Regions from separate parts of the Homo sapiens genome. Here all the other regions are linked to region 1. Evidence: promoter capture Hi-C in 16 types of primary human blood cells and fetal thymus (Javierre and others, 2016). All regions are on one chromosome and are shown on one strand. The core of a region is centred on a gene start or on the middle of the fragment in contact, and the rest is flanking DNA. Distances in the headings are between cores, read along the strand shown. Region 1 holds the start of SYNCRIP (synaptotagmin binding cytoplasmic RNA interacting protein). Region 2 has its middle 5.2 kb from the start of PHIP. Region 3 overlaps PHIP (PHIP subunit of CUL4-Ring ligase complex). Region 4 holds the start of HMGN3 (high mobility group nucleosomal binding domain 3).

Evidence for each region. The method cuts DNA at HindIII sites, captures the fragments that hold promoters and counts their contacts. A CHiCAGO score of 5 or more calls a contact.
Region 2: a fragment that was not itself captured here is called in contact with the fragment with the promoter of SYNCRIP in region 1 in 7 of 17 cell types (non-activated CD4 T cells, total B cells, activated CD4 T cells and 4 more); the score reaches 19.7 in non-activated CD4 T cells.
Region 3: a fragment that was not itself captured here is called in contact with the fragment with the promoter of SYNCRIP in region 1 in 2 of 17 cell types (total B cells and non-activated CD4 T cells); the score reaches 8.0 in total B cells.
Region 4: a fragment that was not itself captured here is called in contact with the fragment with the promoter of SYNCRIP in region 1 in 3 of 17 cell types (non-activated CD4 T cells, total B cells and fetal thymus); the score reaches 9.3 in non-activated CD4 T cells.

The regions. Positions count from the first base shown.
Region 1 is chr6:85,640,345-85,644,716 of GRCh38, reverse strand. SYNCRIP (synaptotagmin binding cytoplasmic RNA interacting protein) reads left to right here and starts at 1,831. Exons shown (of 11, transcript NM_006372.5): 1 at 1,831-1,920; 2 at 3,266-3,425; 3 at 4,153-4,271. The coding sequence starts at 3,278. RefSeq lists silencers at 752-1,771, 2,362-2,511, 2,732-2,781. The HindIII fragment of the contact is 3,992 bases long and covers 205-4,196 here.
Region 2 is chr6:79,081,111-79,085,737 of GRCh38, reverse strand. No RefSeq gene overlaps it. Among named protein-coding and RNA genes, the nearest start is that of PHIP, 5.2 kb to the right of the region's middle. The HindIII fragment of the contact is 1,520 bases long and covers 2,548-4,067 here.
Region 3 is chr6:79,059,789-79,064,076 of GRCh38, reverse strand. PHIP (PHIP subunit of CUL4-Ring ligase complex) reads left to right here. Exons shown (of 40, transcript NM_017934.7): 5 at 3,259-3,409; 6 at 3,501-3,599. The region is part of intron 1 of LOC124901346 (a long non-coding RNA gene); the gene reads right to left. Among named protein-coding and RNA genes, the nearest start is that of PHIP, 16 kb to the left of the region's middle. The HindIII fragment of the contact is 218 bases long and covers 1,394-1,611 here.
Region 4 is chr6:79,230,475-79,234,919 of GRCh38, reverse strand. HMGN3 (high mobility group nucleosomal binding domain 3) reads left to right here and starts at 238. Exons shown (of 7, transcript NM_001201363.2): 1 at 238-374. The coding sequence starts at 360. It overlaps HMGN3-AS1 (HMGN3 antisense RNA 1), which reads right to left and starts at 1,246. Exons shown (of 2, transcript NR_040671.1): 1 at 993-1,246; 2 at 1-858. RefSeq lists enhancers at 120-909, 910-1,700 and a silencer at 913-962. The HindIII fragment of the contact is 1,276 bases long and covers 1,543-2,818 here.

The DNA of each region.
Region 1 (4,372 bases), core at 582-3,081:
TCAAATCCTTACTAAACAGGTTGGCTATGTGGTGCTTTGGCTAAAACATACTTCATATCTGATCCAAGTAGCTATGAAAATAATCTAGCATTTTATGTGCTTGTGCACTTTGAAGAGTGTTTATCTAACTTTTCCTCAAACCACTGATTTGTTATCATAGCACAGAGCTCATCTGGGGAACCAGTAAGCTCTTAAAAATAAGCTTTTTAATCAAAAGGACATTGTTTCTATTTTTCATTACAGCTGCCCTGGATAAAATTAGTATCCATATCGCGTCTGTAATTCAAATGCCTTTGTCTTGTCTTTCTTGTACCTAGTAAACGATTATAAAGGAAACGTCATTTCACAGAAGATTTAGTTGCCAAGGTTTTTTTTAAAAGAAACACAGACATTTTTCTCAAAGTTGTTCTAACCACGCAGCTTTGTGCTGTTTCAAGTTGCTCAAACTGTGCCAGGAGGAAGCCCTTAACTGCTTAAAAGGCCAGGGACTGAAACGGAGTATTGCACAACCCTTCACCACCGGGCGGTTTCGCTTCCAAATCTGGCCTTCGTGTCATCCCAAGGCAGGAGCCGCTCCTCGCTCCACTGGAGCCAGCCCCGTTCCCCCTTCAAAAGCAGCCGGGGTTTCCGCGTCCAAGCCTGGGGCGCCCCTCCCTTCGCCGAAGGTTCCCGTGAAAGCGGAGCCGCGCGGCTGCGAGGAGGGCCCACTGTCCAGTTGGGGAGATCGAGTCTCCAAGGGCGACTCTCGCACTCGAGTACCGCCAGTCCGGCGGACCAAAGGTCCGCGGGTCTCCGCGCCGCTCCCCTCCCCCTTGGCCCCATTGTCTGCCTCGCCCCGCCCCGGGGGACACGTGCGCCTGCAGCTTCCCGAGGAGGAGAGCGCGGGGCGGTGGCAGCGGCGTGGACACCGCCTGGAACGGCTACGCGGCCGCGGAGCCGGGGGCGGGGGCCGGGCGCGCACAGACCGGTGGGTGCCCTCCGGGAAGCGGCAGTCGCACTCAGCGCCCACAGCACTCTGCCCCGCCAGCCCCGGACCGGGCAGGGATGGGGCGGGCGGGAGCTCGGTGGGGGTGGCGTGCGCATGGTGTCGCGGGGAGGGGGTGGGGTGGGGCGGGGTGGGGAGATGCCAGTCTCCTGACAAAGGAAAACGAGTGGGACACGCTGAGCCGGCCCGCCCCGCCTGGAGGGGAGAGGGAGGGGGAGTGTCGGGAGGGGAAGGGGCGGGCCTTTCATTCAGTCTCGGCCCCTCGGCCGCCACCGTCGGAGCGGAAGGGCGGGGTCTTGTGCCTCCCCCACCCCCAACCCAAGGGGTGAGGAGCGGGGAAGGCGGCGCGGCGTGGGGGCGGAGCCCGCGGGCGCGCGTCCCGAGGCGTAGGCTACGTTGTCACGTCAGCGCGGGAGAGAGAAAGAGAGGAGCCGACTCGGCAGGGACTGGGGGACCGGGCCGAGAGTGCGAGCGAGCGAGGGAGGGAGTGAGGGAGCGTGCGAGCCAGAAGGGGAAAGGCGGCCACTCGTGCCTGAGCGACCGCAGAGGGGAGTGGGAGCAGTGGGGTAAAGGAGCGGGGGGCGGGAATAAGAAAGGCCGAGAGAAGGCGGACAGAGGCTAGTGGTGGTGGTGGTGGTAGGGGGAGAAGGAGGAGCTGGAGGAGGGCAGGGGCTGAGGGAGTGAGTGAAGCGGACGCGCGAGGGAGGGGAGGGAAGGGAAGGGAAGGGAAGGGGGGGTCACGCGGGGGCGCGCGCGCGCACCGGGAGCGCGCTCGGAGGCGAGTGGAACTGGATCGGGTTTGCTGCCAGCGGCGTGAGCTTCGGCCGCCATTTTACAACAGCTCCACTCGCGCCGGACACAGGGAGCAGCGAGCACGCGTTTCCCGCAACCCGATACCATCGGACAGGATTTCTCCGCCTCAGCCCAACGGGGAGGTAACGACTGCCAGAACCTGGGTGTGGGAGGGGAGCTCCATGACATTGTGGAGTGAGCTGGGGGAGGGTGGCGCGGGTAGAAACCGGCTTTTCTGGAAAATGGATTCCAATGGGGAGAAGAGCACGTTGACTGGGGCTGCCTGGGAGTAGGCCGCGGCCCGCGCCGCCACTTCCTCCTTTCCATGTGCTGCTGCGGTTCGGGCTTTGTCTGCGGCGCTTTGGGAGGAGGCGCCTCCACGGTCCCGTGGCCCGCACGGACCGCGAGCGGCTTCAGAGTTGGTGCTGTCGTGGCGGTCGCCGCGGCGCGGGAGTGGGCGGAGAGGAGTGGGTCTTGTCCTGCAGCCGTGCGGCGAGCTTGGGCGGTGCTCACGGTCCCGCGGGCGTTGAGCCGTCCGCTGAACGCCCTCACGCTGCTGGGTTGCCGGGCAGGCGTCGCAGTCACTGCACGGAAGGGTAAGGGGTGGGGACCTGCACAGCGCGCCACGGGTCACGTCTCGGCCGGGCGGGCGGCCGGGGGTCGTCGGCGCCCGGGGAGCGCCAGGGGCGGAGAGCCATGTGTCACGGCGGAGACGGCGGCGCTGGGGGGCGGGGAGAGCCTGTGGCCTGGCGCCGCCGGTGCCTCGGTGTTCAGGGGAGAGATTGTGCTGCTGCAGCTTTCTGGGGGCTCCGACCGCGGCTTCGGGTTGATGTTGGGAACCAGTGATGGTCGTCTTGGTTTGGGATTCGTTGGGTTGCCGTTGAAGGAAGTTGTAGGACATTGGAAGGCGCAGAGCACGTGTTTCTAATGGGCTCCTGGCGGCCGCAGTGGTGAGACTGCCGCTCTGGGTGCGGAGTCAGGGGCGGGCTTTGGGGTGCGGGGTTAAAGGGTGGAGAAATTGGGTGGTGGGAAGGTGGCTTGTATGAGCGCTTTGTTCTTCGCTGGCTGTTGTTACCGATCTATAAGCGGCAGGCGGGAAAAGCGCGCACTTTGGGGGTTTATCTTTGAGAGAGAGGAGCCCAGTTTTGCTTTCTCCACACACACCTCATTTTCCGAACGGGCACAGCTGCATGTGGCACGCTGGCTCGTACCCGTGCTGATTGGGCTCTATTTGTAATATGGTTTTTCCTAGGGAGTGTTAGCAGGTGAGTCAGGGGTGGTGCTGAGGAAGAATATGGTGAATCGGTCCTTCTGTGCCCTGTGCTCCAAATCTGGCTTGTCAGGCGATAGTGACTGTAAGGCTTTTTTAAAGGGAGGTATAGGCTAGCTGGTGTAGTAAATGGTAGAGAAAGTAAAGATGGGGCTCTCATATTGTCTTGTATTCTTTTTGAAGATCCTAGTTTAATTTTGCTTATTGCGTTTGAACAGATCTCTGGAAACATGGCTACAGAACATGTTAATGGAAATGGTACTGAAGAGCCCATGGATACTACTTCTGCAGTTATCCATTCAGAAAATTTTCAGACATTGCTTGATGCTGGTTTACCACAGAAAGTTGCTGAAAAACTAGATGAAATTTACGTTGCAGGTAAGAACTAACACTTGCAAAATTACATTATGAAATTTTTCTATTGGATTTCTGGCTTTGAGCTAAAATAGCAACTTTTTGTGGTTTCCAATAAGTGTGGGTACTGGAGTTTTGCTTGTTGTGATAGTTGGTTAATTTAAGTTTGAAGTAGAGGTTAAGATGTATAGAGGGAGGGAAGAAGAGAAGGTTAGGAGCTAAAGGCTGGCTTGCATGCTGGCCTGATGGATAAGTATATGATAGTAGCAACAGCTGCTAAATGTTGGGAACAGGCCATGTGACTTTTTTGAGTATTTTTATAGTAGGATTCTTCTTAAATAACTTGGTAACTGTAGACTTGTTTTCTTGTCTTTCTGGTGCGGCTGTTAACTTTTTCTGGTGGTATTTGAAATTGAGTAGAGGTTCAGTTGTCATGCTTGGTACTTTGTTGGTTGATTCTAGGATTCGTAAGTCTGTATACTGTAAAAATACCGTAGTGTTCAGAGTTATCAGACTTTGGAGATAAAAGATGTAAAAGAAGTTAGCTGATTATTGTAAGTGTGGTTGGTAGGGCATATTTAGTTCAGGATTCAGTTCAGAGTGGCTGAAGTGTGTGTTTTTTTTTTTTCAGGTATAGATGAGGGGAGTAGAAGAATTGTAAAGGCACACATGTACCTGTATTGCCAACATAGTCTTCTCTAAAAAATCTTTTCTAAAAATATTAAAAGCTGATAACTTTTATTTTTTTCAGGGCTAGTTGCACATAGTGATTTAGATGAAAGAGCTATTGAAGCTTTAAAAGAATTCAATGAAGACGGTGCATTGGCAGTTCTTCAACAGTTTAAAGACAGTGATCTCTCTCATGTTCAGGTAATGTTAATGTCAATGTGAAAATTAAAAAATTTGAGTAGTTTTGATACTATCTGCTGAATTTTATTAGACTCAGATATGGTTATTGTTAAATATTAATG
Region 2 (4,627 bases), core at 2,058-4,557, 6.6 Mb after region 1:
TAAGAAAGGTTGGGGAGGATAGGTAAAACCAGAATGTCGAAATGTGGATAATTGTGAACACTGGGAATTGGAAATCTGGGGGTTATCCTTCTATTCTCCTTACTTTTTTGAATGTTTGACAATTTTTCCATAATAAAAAGGTTTGAAACATCGCTCCAAAGTTAATGACTTGATTTCTAGACTCCAAATATTACTGTGTTGAAGCATAAATATGTTAGGAAAAGAAAAACTAAACTTTTAATGAATGACAACATGTTTGTAACCTAAAAAAGCTAAAAGGAAAAAATCTGCACACTAAAAAATTTTTTGGAGTAAATGCAACTTGTGACTCTAGTTTGTAAGTTTCAATCTACTTGTGGCTAGAGGACTTGATTGAAACCTCTCTATGGTTAATAATATTGTATAAATAAAAATAATCTGTTATAAATTAACTGTTAATTTTAAAATATGAAAATAATACCCTCACTCAAAAAGTGTTTTGAAAAAAAATTCAAGAGTCTATCACACTCAAGTGATTACTTCACAAAGTTTTAGCATGTTGTTTTGCAGATGCTAAAAATAACTTGGTAGACTTTATTCCGGCTAGCATTGTAAAATATATACATTTTGTACTAAAAGCAATTAGGTTAAGATACAGAAACATAGTCTATATGAAATACTCATTGTTTCAAAAATGTGAATTCTTTGCAGTTAAATTTGAATGGTATATATAGCCATTGATTCATATCTCTTGCAATCCATTCAATAAATTGAGTTATTGCTGTTAAACAAAGTCAGATTTTAATAACTGAAAATTTCTGGAGACTAGCCAGATTATGCAACCTTTGTTTTCCAGATGTTGTGGTTAGAGGGGTCACTGCTGCTTCAGATTATCAGCCTCTAGTAAGCTGGGCATCTCCATGTGTTGAAACAAAGTACATAATGAGGGTCAAACTGCAAGTGTTTAAATGATGGTTCTTCAGCTGACACACAGAGAGAAAGGAATAACGCTGCAATGAGAATACTATAGTAGTAGGAATGACATATAAGGGCCAAGGACAGATGTTAGAGGTTGACTTTGGGTTTTTATGTCATCTTAAATAATTTTGCCCAGGAAAAAAAAAACACAGCTTCACAGCAATGCAGAACACCAGAACTTGTGACAGAAGTTCTTATTTTTTTCATCTTTTTTAACATTAAAAAAATTTCTATTAAAATATTATGAGTAGTAAAAAGGGAAAAGATCATAAAATAATAACAGGAAAAAAGTTGGGTGATTAACAGAGGAAATTACCTTTGTAATTACTATTCTAATAGAAGAATGCCTGTTAATAGGCTTTAGGGGAAAGTATCTTCACTATCGTGCCACGGAAATTTGCCATTGTGTGTTCAACACAAACTGATCTAAATTTTTTTAAGGTATAATACGATCTGGATCTAAAAATGAAAATGAAACAAGTTATCTAAATATCTCAAAGAAGTGAAGTTAAGCAATATTAACCATAGAGAGGTTTAAGTTTATGTAAGTCCTGAAAACTTTATGGAGTGTGAAAAATGCAAAAACTTTTTTTAAAATTTAGTAATTCCTCTAACTCAGTAAAATCTAACATCTGAAGAGGGCCACATTTACCTGGACTTCGGTAAAAATGTTGAAATAAGAAAAATTTGGCAACACAAAAATGCAAATACATACTGCACAAACAGCAAACGTTTGCCACTTAGCACTTCATTTCTTTCCTTATGGAAAAACAGAGGAAAGAAAGCAGGAAGAGGGAAGCAGGGAAGCAAGGCAGGAAGAAAGGAAGGAAGACAGGGAGGCAGGCTACATGTTTTTTCCTCCTTTTGACACCAATTCTTTAAATTGTTTTAGTCTTTTGTATAATAACCAGGAAACCTGAAAATAAGAGATGTTGAAGATTTTAATGTGTGACAGTCCCAATTATAAGAGGAAAGAATAGATTCATATTTATATTTTTAGAGTTCTTAGAATATATCCAAACTGAAAATATAACATGGGAATTGTTTCTCCAAATAATTACATATCTTATTTTCCGTATTTTACCTTTGGAAACTAACATTTCACTGATGGAAAAGAAGGAAACTTTTACAGAGACACAGAAAAAACTGAAAATGCCGGAATATCAGGGAAAGATGGAATTCTTACACAAGTACTTGCCAAAAAACCCAAAACACTGAATGACAAAAACAAGTGTAAAGTGTAACATGTACAAACTATAATAAGACAAAAAGACAATATACTTCTTCCTTCTCACATGATGCTACTTACCCAACATTTTTAAGAAAGATTTTCTCTAATGATGTCTTAGAGGCATTACTTCTGATACCTGTTAAGGGGAAATACCACATATATTCTTACCACAATATTCCATCTAAAGGCTATCATAGTTTGTCTATAAATCATTATCAGTTGGTAAATTTTGATGAGCATTTAAAAATCCACTCCAGCCATTTCGTCTGCACCTGTATTTTTAGGCACTCAAGTGTAAACATGAAAACTGTTAGTGTAACAAGATTTGTAGGTGTAATCTTAAAATCAAATTATAAGCTTTTCTTAAATTTTAGCACACACATCTTGGTTGAAAGATCTACCTGGTATCAATATTGTTTTAAATTTTTAACTATGATATAACTAATTTTTTTGTAATAGCTAGTCATTGTTTCAATAAACATGTATGAGAATATCTGTGAAAGAGAATAAAGCAACAGAGGCATAAGTCAGGGGGACCTTCGCAAGTACACACACATCCCCATATATGAAGAAAAACAAAAATAATATACAAATTAGATTGTATAATTAGGTCTCTTATAGGAATTCAGAAAATAGAGTATTTTTGGTTACAGTTAAATCTAAGTTGCTTTATTCTTAATTTTGAATTAGAACTTATATATGAGTCTCAAGTCAGACTTGTGAGTGCTCTGAATGTTCAGTCCTTATTCTTTCAAACACCTGTTCTTCTTTGTCATCAGTAGTGTCTACTTTGGTGTCCTTGATATCCATTATTTTTACTCTGTATAGATTCCTCACTATTTGTCAGATAAAACTTTCCCTTCCTTTTCTATAACTAAAATGCTTTTTCTTTGGGGTTCCTGAAGTTTATGGCTTTAGGCACATATAAAGGCAAGTGACTATGTAACTGTTTTTCTCAAATGCCATCTTAACATCGCATAGATAATAGTGTACTACCAGAGCCTCTGCACCCATTTTCTCCTCCCCTCCCCCACTTTACCTTCTCTTCTTTCACTGTTCTCTGTTCAACTCAGCCCACTCCCAGTCCATCAGACATCTTCCTATGATAGAACATGCCTACAGACTTCTCCTTTATGTTTCCTGCCATCTGGAACAGCTTTTTCTGCTTCATCCACTGTGTTGCTCCAAATCTTAGGGGAATATGTTCTAAAATTGTTTTTCTCCTTTAATCTTTGTAATTGTACTGTTAAAACTCATGAAGTGATCATTTAAAACAAACTATATAAATAAACCCATGAAGATGTGTATTTCTTGTGCAAATTAAGACTTATAAAAATACAAACTACTAGAATTATTTAACTTGGATAAAAAAGATTGAGTGAATTACTAACATTTAAATACATAAGGGATAACATGATTGTTGAGGACTAGCTATATTTGTTACACATTAAAAGGAAACGTGCTCTAATTTAAGTAAAAAGATTCCTCAGTGAGATATAAGGGAGAACTGTTAATGTTAAATAACAAAAACATTGTTAAATAATGGAATGGCTCACTTAAGTTGGTTATCTCTATTCTTTTTGGAGCAGCCAAATAGTATATCTGTTCATGTGCTTCAAATCTGATAAATATTCATGCTCTATGAAGAAGGATATGTGTGTGTGTGTGTGTGTGTGTGTAAGAGAGAGAGAAAGTCAGATAAGCATGGACAGAAACACACAATATTGGGGAGCAAGCCACAGTGAGGAGTGTGGCTTGTTAAATAAGATCCTTGACAGTTGTATTGTGTTCTTGGGGCAGATGAGTAGTTTTTTTTAAAGTACTTTTGAGAGAACAGTGTTTTCTACTTTTACATTTCTGTATTTCACAGGATAAAGCTTCTGCTATAGAAGAAATGTAACATCAAAACAAAAGCAAGATTTAACATGAAATTTTAAAAGTTGTACTTATAGAGATTTTTTGAGTTACGTATTATTCACCATACTACTGGAGATTAAATTTCATAAATGTATAATTTTTGTACTTATAAATACCATCCCATCTTGTTCCTGAAACAACTGAAATGATAGTATTTGATTATTTTATTGGAATAATAGCTTACAAGATCAAGACAAAATTTTTGTTAAATATTTATTTTGTTTCATGTGTTGCCACGTGAAAAGTGATGAATTTCACATAAACTTTTATATTTCAAGAAAAGTTTCTATATCTCCTAGAGAGACTATATTATGTAAAAACGTTAGGTCTTGGCTTTCCAAACTTTTACTATTATTTGTTAACCTTGTTATTTAAACTGCATGGAGATCTTTTTAAAGTGATATTTTATTTTTGGAAACCCATAAAAATGTTAAAATAAACAAACAGGAAAGGATATAGATGGAATCTGAACTATCCTTATATGCAAAAGAGTTGGCTGAACAAAAAATTGCAAGGATCATT
Region 3 (4,288 bases), core at 253-2,752, 6.6 Mb after region 1:
GGTTTACAGATTTGATAGGGAAGAAACAAAGCTTCAGCTTTAAAAAAGGTTCTCCTGTAAAGTAGGTTAGGTCATCTGCTGAGAAAATGAGGGGTGGGGAAGAGGATTCTTGGGAAAGAGAGGATAATAGCATTGTTTGTTAGTCTGTTTCCACTGTTCTTTCCAGAGACCCTTTCATGGTGGTACCTCAGGGACTGCTAAGAGGAAGCAAGTAGAGAGTCAAGCATTGAGATATGTGTTCCCTGATGCCACTTAAGTAAGATACTTTCTGAGTACCTTTACTTTAATCTGTTTTGTCTAAAATTTGTTTGAAGACATGTTCTAAGGCTTTCTTTAAAAAGTGTTTTAAAACTGTTAGAATTGGCCGGACGCTGTGGCTCATGCCTGTAATCCCAGCACTTGGGAGGCCTAGGGGGCGAATTACTTGAGGTCAGAAGTTCGAGACCAGCCTGGTCAACATGGCAAAACCCCGTCTCTACTAAAAATACAAAAATTAGCCAGGTTAGGTGGTGGGGCGCCTGTAATTCCAGCTACTCGGGAGGCGAGGCAGGAGAATCACTTGAACCTGGGAGGCGGAGGTTGCAGTGAGCCGAGATCCCGCCATTGTACTCCGTCCTGGGTGACAGAGGGAGACTCCGTCTCAAAACAAACAAACTCACCCCAAAACTATTAGAATAAAGAATTATACCATGTAAAAAAATTTTACTGCATCTATTTTTATGTGCTGGGATAGGTGCTAACAAAATGTTTTGGGTTTTTTGAGAGTGGGGAAGTCAGTCGTTTCTGCATATTCTTAAATCTTCATATATCCAACTAGAACTTTATTAAGCACTTAACTATAAGTACTGCATTAGGTATTGGGTAGACAGAGGTAAACATGGCCCAATCTCTCCTTATGCAGGACACAGACAAGTAAACTGGCAATTTTAGTATAGTGCATGAGTCTTATGAACCCCCAAAACAGGGCACATAATGGTAGGGCTTGTGTATTTTTGCAGGGAAGAAGATCGTAGCTGTCATTAGATTCTTAAAAGTCTAAGTATCAAAATATATTAAGAACAATTAATATGGTAAGTACTACACAGTGCTAGAGGGATGAAGGGACATTCGAGGAGTATAATGTGCTGTGGGAACACAAAGTGTCCAAAAAGGGGCACAGGTGGTGTAAATAGGTCATGGAAGGCAGTGAGTGAGACATAGACTGAGACATGAAGGAGAATGAGGTGTAGAGGTGAGCAGGTAAGACAAGATTGCCAGCAGAGGCATCAGCTTGTATAAAGTCTCAAAAGCCAGAGAAAGCACAAGGAATTTAAGAACTGGAAGTATCTCTTCTAACTTTAAAATGAAAGTTGATTTTGAAAAATTCAAACATTCTAAATCACCAAAGAAAGCTTGAGTCAGAGTGGATTCATAATATTTTATTGAAAGATAGAATATTACAGTAAGGATTTTCAGTTTCACTACCTGAAAATATATTTTGCCAGAGGATACTAAAACAGGATCATCACACATCTGAAGTTAATAAGTAATGAACTTCCATCTTCTTTAAAGTAAAATTTTTAAAAGGAATTTTGATCAATTAAGTCACATTAAAATAATCATTTGCAAGCTTAGAACTGGAAGCAACCTTACAAGTATTCTAGACTTCTAAATTTTATTTTTGAGTAAATTATTTTGGGGAAGATTAAAGAAAAGTATACGATTTTAAAAACTCATTTTGGTAAGTTTTCTTTTAAATGCTTTTTAATTTAGCTAATCATACTAGTGTTTCCTAAAGTATGTTCTGAGTGAATATGATAGATATTATTAGGGAAAAAAGGGATTCTGTAGCTAAATGAGTTTGGGAAATAATCTCAGGATTTTTCAGAGACTTCAATGTCAGTGTGCTTTTTGACTGCAAAACAAGGAGGTAATATGTATAATTCATATGATACAAACTGTATTAGAACTCCTTTTTCCAAAAATACTCATTTTACTGGCTTATCACCTACTGTATGCCAAACTGCTGTTTTAAATAATCTTACCAAAGATTATTTGGTGGCAGTATGGCTCCATGTTATCTTTGTGAAAGAAGGAGTGTATTTTGATAAAGAGTAAGGTAGGTTTCTCCTATTGGCTTCAGTTTAGATGGGTATTAGCTACCTTTAAAAACATATCATTCATGGATTTCTGCAGTTAAGAGTATAGCAGATATTGCAAGATGGAATGAGATGATTTAAATCCTCACCTCCCCCCACATCAGTCTTATCAAAAGGAATTCATGTTAAAGTTGCCATTACTTGGTAAACTTGAGGAACAATTTTCAAATTTCTTGGTCTTAGGACCCCTTTACACTTACTAAAATGTATTGAAGTTCCTTTATTTGTGTAGCTTATAATCTATTGGTATTTACCATATTAGAAACTTAGCATTTAACATATTGGAGACCTATTAAATAATACTAATAAACTAATCTTATTTTAATATAAGTAACATTTTTATAATAATTATTCCCAAACAAAACAAATTTGTGAGAAGCGTGGCATTGTTTTACATTTCTGTGAATCTTTAATATCTGGCTTAATAGAGGAGACATTTTCCTATCTGCTTCTGCATTCAGTCTGTTAAGACATCACATGTTATGTGTCCTGTGGAAACCTCCACCGTGCATTCATGAGAAAAAGTGAAAAACAACTAATATAGTGTTATTCATAAGTTTTATCTGAGGGACCTCCAGGGGTTCCCAAAACATACTTTGAGAATAGCTGAACTAGATACTACTGTGGAAATTTTTTTCTAACTTGATAGCTAATTATGAAGTAATACAATAGTATTTTTTTCCAATATAATTTTATTTAGATAGTGAATATTGTTTATTTACTGAAAGACTAATAAAAATATTAGCATTTCATGTCATGGTTTCAAATGCCGGTATAAATTAAGCAGTATTTTGAAGTTGTTCCAAAAGTGCTCAAACTTTTTATAGTGGGTAGCTTTATTTTATGATTGAAAGATATTTAAAGCAGCAGTTGGAATTTTGCCTTTCTCTCTGTAAGGTTTTTGGTAAATTATGAAATTCAGCATAGATGTTAAGTGTTCTTAAATTTTTTAATAACAAACTATCAGTTCTTAATTCTTAATTATTCTGGAGATTTACTTTACATCAAAGACGCAAAACAAAATATTTTATACTTGGATGAATTTTTTTATTGTTGCTCAAAGATTTTGAAAATTAAAATGATAAACTGAAACCTACTATATTTGTCTTTTACATAATAGGTGAAGTATTACAGACACTTAGCACCTGATCACTTGCTGCAAATATGTCATCGACTAGGACCTCTTCTTGAACAAGAAATTCCTCAAAGTGTTCCTGGAGTACAAACTTTATTAGGAGCTGGAAGACAGTCTTTACTACGCACAAATAAAAGTATGAAAATTTTCTCATAGGATTTAGACATTATTTATCTCACTTTTGTTTTTGTGTTCTTTGTATGCATAAAAATACATGTGTTTAATAGGCTGCAAGCATGTTGTGTGGAAAGGATCTGCTCTGGCTGCGTTGCACTGTGGAAGACCACCTGAGTCACCAGTTAACTATGGTAGCCCACCCAGCATTGGTGAGTTGTTTGAGTTCACTAGTAGTTAATAGCCTCTTGGTAAAGAGCTTTTGAAAATGAAAAGGTTTTTTAGTTACTGTGGTATTAGAGAACTTCATATTATGTACATCTGCATTCAAAAAGAAAAAAATAGATTTTTTTTCTTAGTAGTAGTTTTAATAGTGAAAAAGTCATGTATAATGAGGGATTGTGCACATTGCACCTTATGTAGGCCAATTAGCTCATTGGAATTTTATTTTTACGAAAGTTCCATATTAAGGTATATATTATTAGGTCGAGTTAGTAGAATCAATATATAATTCAGATTAGTTATAATGGTAGGAGACAAAAGTAGTTATCTTTTTAAGAGCACAGTACTTTTTTTTTTTTTTCTTTTTTTGGCTAAAGTTTCAAAGAGGGAGTACTGATGCAAGTATGTCTTCTTGAGATGCCTCCTAGGTTCATGCCTTTCACATCTGCTACTACCAGGCCCTTGCCTTACCCGGATTAATACAGCATCATCCAAACTAATCTTCTTGCCTATGGTGTCTTCTATCTCTCTCTCCCTCCCAGTATAGTGTGTAACACTGTAATAGTAACCTTATTCAGTTCTACCTTTGTTGTGTCACTCTTCTGCTGAAGATAGTATAAAGAGGTTAAGATATTTTAATAGTGTTGTACTTTCTCTAAGTGTACTCCTAATTTTCAGA
Region 4 (4,445 bases), core at 931-3,430, 6.4 Mb after region 1:
GATTGTGTGGCCTGGAGGCTACTAGTTGAACTGGGCATGCTCAGTCGCCAGGCAGATTTTTTTCGGTGAAGTGGAAACTACAACAGCGCGTACCGCGCGCGGAGGTGGGCGTGCCCTCGTGGAATTTAGAACGTTGCCTCAGCCAATGGGGCCTCGCGGCCGGCTGGCGGGGCTCCTCATTGGAGCAGCAGGGAGGCGAGCAGAGGGCCCCCAGAGGGAGCCGCGGAGGTGCAGGTCGAAGAGGCCGGGCTACGTCGTGCCCTGCGCGTGAGCAGCTGCAGAGGCAGAGGCAGCATCCAGCGGCGGCGCCAGCAGTTCCAGTCCGTTGCTTTACTTTTTGCTTCACCGACATAGTCATTATGCCGAAGAGAAAGGTAAGTCTTACCAAAAAAAGATTTCAAAAGCCTTCAAATTCTGCTTACAGTAAATGCTGGCATTGCAATGGCTCGCGCAGAACGCGCGCGGTAGTAACCCGGGGATTGGGAATCTTTGCTCCTCCACGCTTGTTTTTAGATGCCTGTTGCAGACGTTCCTCTCTCTGTCCCCCCTACCCACTCCGTCCTCATCGATCTCTTAATGTTACTTTCTCTCCAGTGACGCGGTTTCCCTTCTTTTTGAACTCATTCTCGCTGGAATGTTTTCCACCCCCAACAACAAGAAGCAAAAGCGGCTTTCCATTCCGAAAGGGAGTTTCCTCTTTGCAAACTGCCAGGTTGCGAATTAGTGTGAAGGGAAAACAGCGAGAGGAGAAAAACAAGTACAAGCGTAAGGAGAGGGAAGAAAATAAATCAGGCAAATGTTGGGATTATTCCCATGCGGCTGTACTCGCGGGCTGGGTGCGCTGCGGTGGCTCCTAGGCTAAGGGAAAGAGAAAGCCATGTTTAAAATAGCGCTCACCCTCCTGCTCGCCTCCGCTGCAGACCCGTATGTACCAACTCCAGTGTCAATCAGGGCTGGGGCCGGCGAGGCGGGGCCTGGCGGCCTGGACCTACCCGCAGTTCGGGGCGGGAGCGGTGGAGTTGGCAGCGTGGAAGACGGGACGGCGCCGGGGCGTCCAATATGGCTCGTCCAAGGTCAGGGGGCCACCAGGTCCTCCCCAGCGACTGGAACCCACACTCGGTTGGGGAAGGCGGGGTCCGCGCGCTATCCGCCCCTCTGCGCGTCTAGCGAACTGGAGTCATTTTTGTCTTGTCTTCCGCCCCTTGCGGACTGTCCTCTTCTGCGCAGGCCCCGGACACCAACTACTACATTCAGGGACACAAATCTCCCTCGGGGTGGGGCTTCGACTTGTCCCGGGGAGGGAAGGGAAAGGTTTCCTCCTCCCTGAGAAATCAGTGAGGATTTCTCAGCTGGTTCCTAAGCAAGTGCTTTGCACCCTCCCACCGCCAGCCTCAGTGTTTCCAACAGTGTCAACGAGTGTGGGTATTAAATTTGAAGCAAAATTACACCTAATGTCTTGCTTTATCAAAGACCATGGACTAATTTGTGTGTGAGAGTGACTGCATTATTTTAAAATACTGAAGTTTTAAAAATTCAAAAGCTTTCCCCTTCTTATATGTTATTACTAAAAATTGGGTAGAAACTTGTCTCCTACCCCACTTTTTAAAAATAATTGAAAGTGTTTAAAAGTCTTAGAGTTTGTTGTGCACATACTGTGTCCCTCACGCTGTGCAGAATTTGACTTGCATTATCTCATTTAATCCTGAAAACAGCTTGAGCGGTGTTACCCCCATTCAGCTGGGACTTAAAGACATAAATTGTCCTGCATCTCACCAACCAATAACTACTAGTAAAGATTTAATCAGATGCTATAGATGCCAAAGTCTTATTCTCACCCATTTCGTACTCACTTACGAAAGGGTGGGTCAAGAGGAATTAAGGAAATCCAAAGGTACTCCCAGTTTAAGAAGACAGATGGCATATTAAGAGCACTAATACTTGAGATTTATTATTTAAACTTAATTTTATGAAGGTATTTTCTAGCCCTGTTTTACTAGAATTAGGATATTAAGTGATGTCACCATTTTCAGCATTTTGACTGAGGGTTAATGATGGATTGGAAATTCTAGTAGAGACAAAGGAACTAATCATCAAGATACGGGTTACAGAGTAAGTGAGCTGGAGGCCATCTTTTTTTCCTGGGAATTATAACCATTGTTTACATAAACAGTAGGTTAGGTGTGCACACTTTATGTATAATGGACCCTGACGATGGAACCCTTCCTTGCTGTTTATTCAAGGGCCAGAGCTGCTGAAACCATTATTCTTACTTCCCCTGTCTGCCTCTCTCAAGGAGACGGAAGGAAAAAAAAAAAAAACTAAAATAACAGTAAAATTACAGCTACAGTTTTATTTCCCTGGAAGGCAGGGAACCCCCATGCATAAGCTAGCCAATGGTCCTGAGACTAGGGGCAAAACTGTGTACAGGCACCTGTGTGTCATTCCTGAGGACATCAGAGTGTTCTCCGGTGATGGAAAACCTCTCCTTGATTAATAGGAAGGCTTTCCATTTATACCTGAAGCCTAACGACCTCAGTTGGTACCTGGGCAGGAACAACCTCAGATTAAACACGGCGATCATGGCCATCCATCTATCAGTCAAGTCTTAGAGCAGCCTCATGGAATCCTGAAGTTCACTGGAACTTATGTGAGGAACCACTGTCATTAGGTAAAGCCTGCTTAGATACAAAAAAGAACTGGAGACAATCCATGCATAGCTCTTCAAGATCTTCAAAGCTGGGGTAACTGCCAAAGCATTTACATACTACACAATATTTTTCTTGACTAAAGAATTGTCTGCTCTACAATATAATAAGCTTTTAAAATGTCCCCCTAGTACTTTTTTGCCTTCTTAGCCCCCTGTATCAACCTTTCCTAGAAATCAAGAAATGTTATTTAATGAACATCTGAGTAAGTTGTTCTGCAGAGCAAGAAGTGGTACAGATAAAGTCAATGAAAACATCTGGAATCCTAGCCCTGTTGTAATGCTGTAGGGACATACAGTTTTTGCCCTCTTGGAACTTGTGTTTAATTCAATGAGGTGATAAGACTAGCAGCACAAAACAGTTGAATAACATTAAAACTGTGTATGTGTTCCAGAATGTGTAGTTATAGATCCCACAAGCAGTAGGACAGATAAGGAAAGTTAACTTTAGGCTGGTCTTAAAAGTGTGGGTAGGACTCAAATATACAAAGAAGTCAGAGTCATTTTTTGTTACCAGGTATTCAAGTGTGTCTCCTGATTGTATCTTAACATGACCAGGCCTCAGTTTTGCAACTTCAGGGCTATAATATCATCTGAATTAATATTAAAATGTTCTGATGACATTTCTTTGTAAGTTTTATGTGTATCTTTGTGTGTGATAGTCATAACTACATTAAGCCAAGTGGTTTTTTATAAATGCCATAGTATTTTGTGAAGTAATACAGCACTTAGTGAAGAGTTCTTCAGTGCATATTATCTCTAAGTTTGTGAGATGTAAATAAAAGTGAGTTTCCTGTATTTTTTAGATAATGGATGGTGGGTGAGTGGAATTACAGGGGAAATGATAACATTCATGGACTCAGTGGTGAGACAATGAGTGATTGAGTTCTAGACTGTTCTGGCCAGACATCCACAAATGCCCGCAGTGGTCATGTTGTTATGTGATGATTTGATGTTCTACGAAGAGACATGAGCCAGCGAGGCCTAGAGTCACAGTCCTGGCATGATTAGCGACAGGAAACACATTTTTACCTCTTTCTTTTTATTAATATTTTCCAGTTCCTTATCACTAGAACTATTTTAAATGTCTAGTGTATCACATCAGAAATTCTCTAATGAGGCAATTTTCCATGAATGTGGCATGTAAGCAGTCATGTCTCTTGACACTTAAAGGTTTAAGGAAGGAAAGCCCATCTGCCTCTAGCTTTGAAACTCAAAATTAGGTTTTTATCTGTTTCCTTAAAATGGAAGGCCCAGTAGCAGTAGCATTGGGCTTATTAGCACAGGGGATGCTTAACTAACCATGATCAAGGTTTGTGATAGTTAATTTTGAAAAGAATATTACTTGTCATAACACCAAAAACAGAAACTGTAAATGAAAACACAGATAAATTTGGCTACATGAAAATGAATATTTCAATATGGGAAAAAAAACTGTTAACAAAATTTTTAAATTTATGAAAAACTGGGAAAAAATATTTGTACCACATATCACTGAAAAAGGTTTGCTGTTTTAAAAAGATAGCATCTCACATTTCCTTATGGAAAAGATGTATATCTTTATAGGAAAATAATGAAGACTCAAGTAGACAGAAATGTTTGGTTTTACTAGAAATCAAAGAAATGTACAATATTAAGAATAATGAGATGTAATTTTTAAAATAACCAATCTGGTTTAAAAAAAGATTAAAAACCTACTGGCTAGTGCTGAGGGATATAGACACTCAGCACTCTCAGTTAT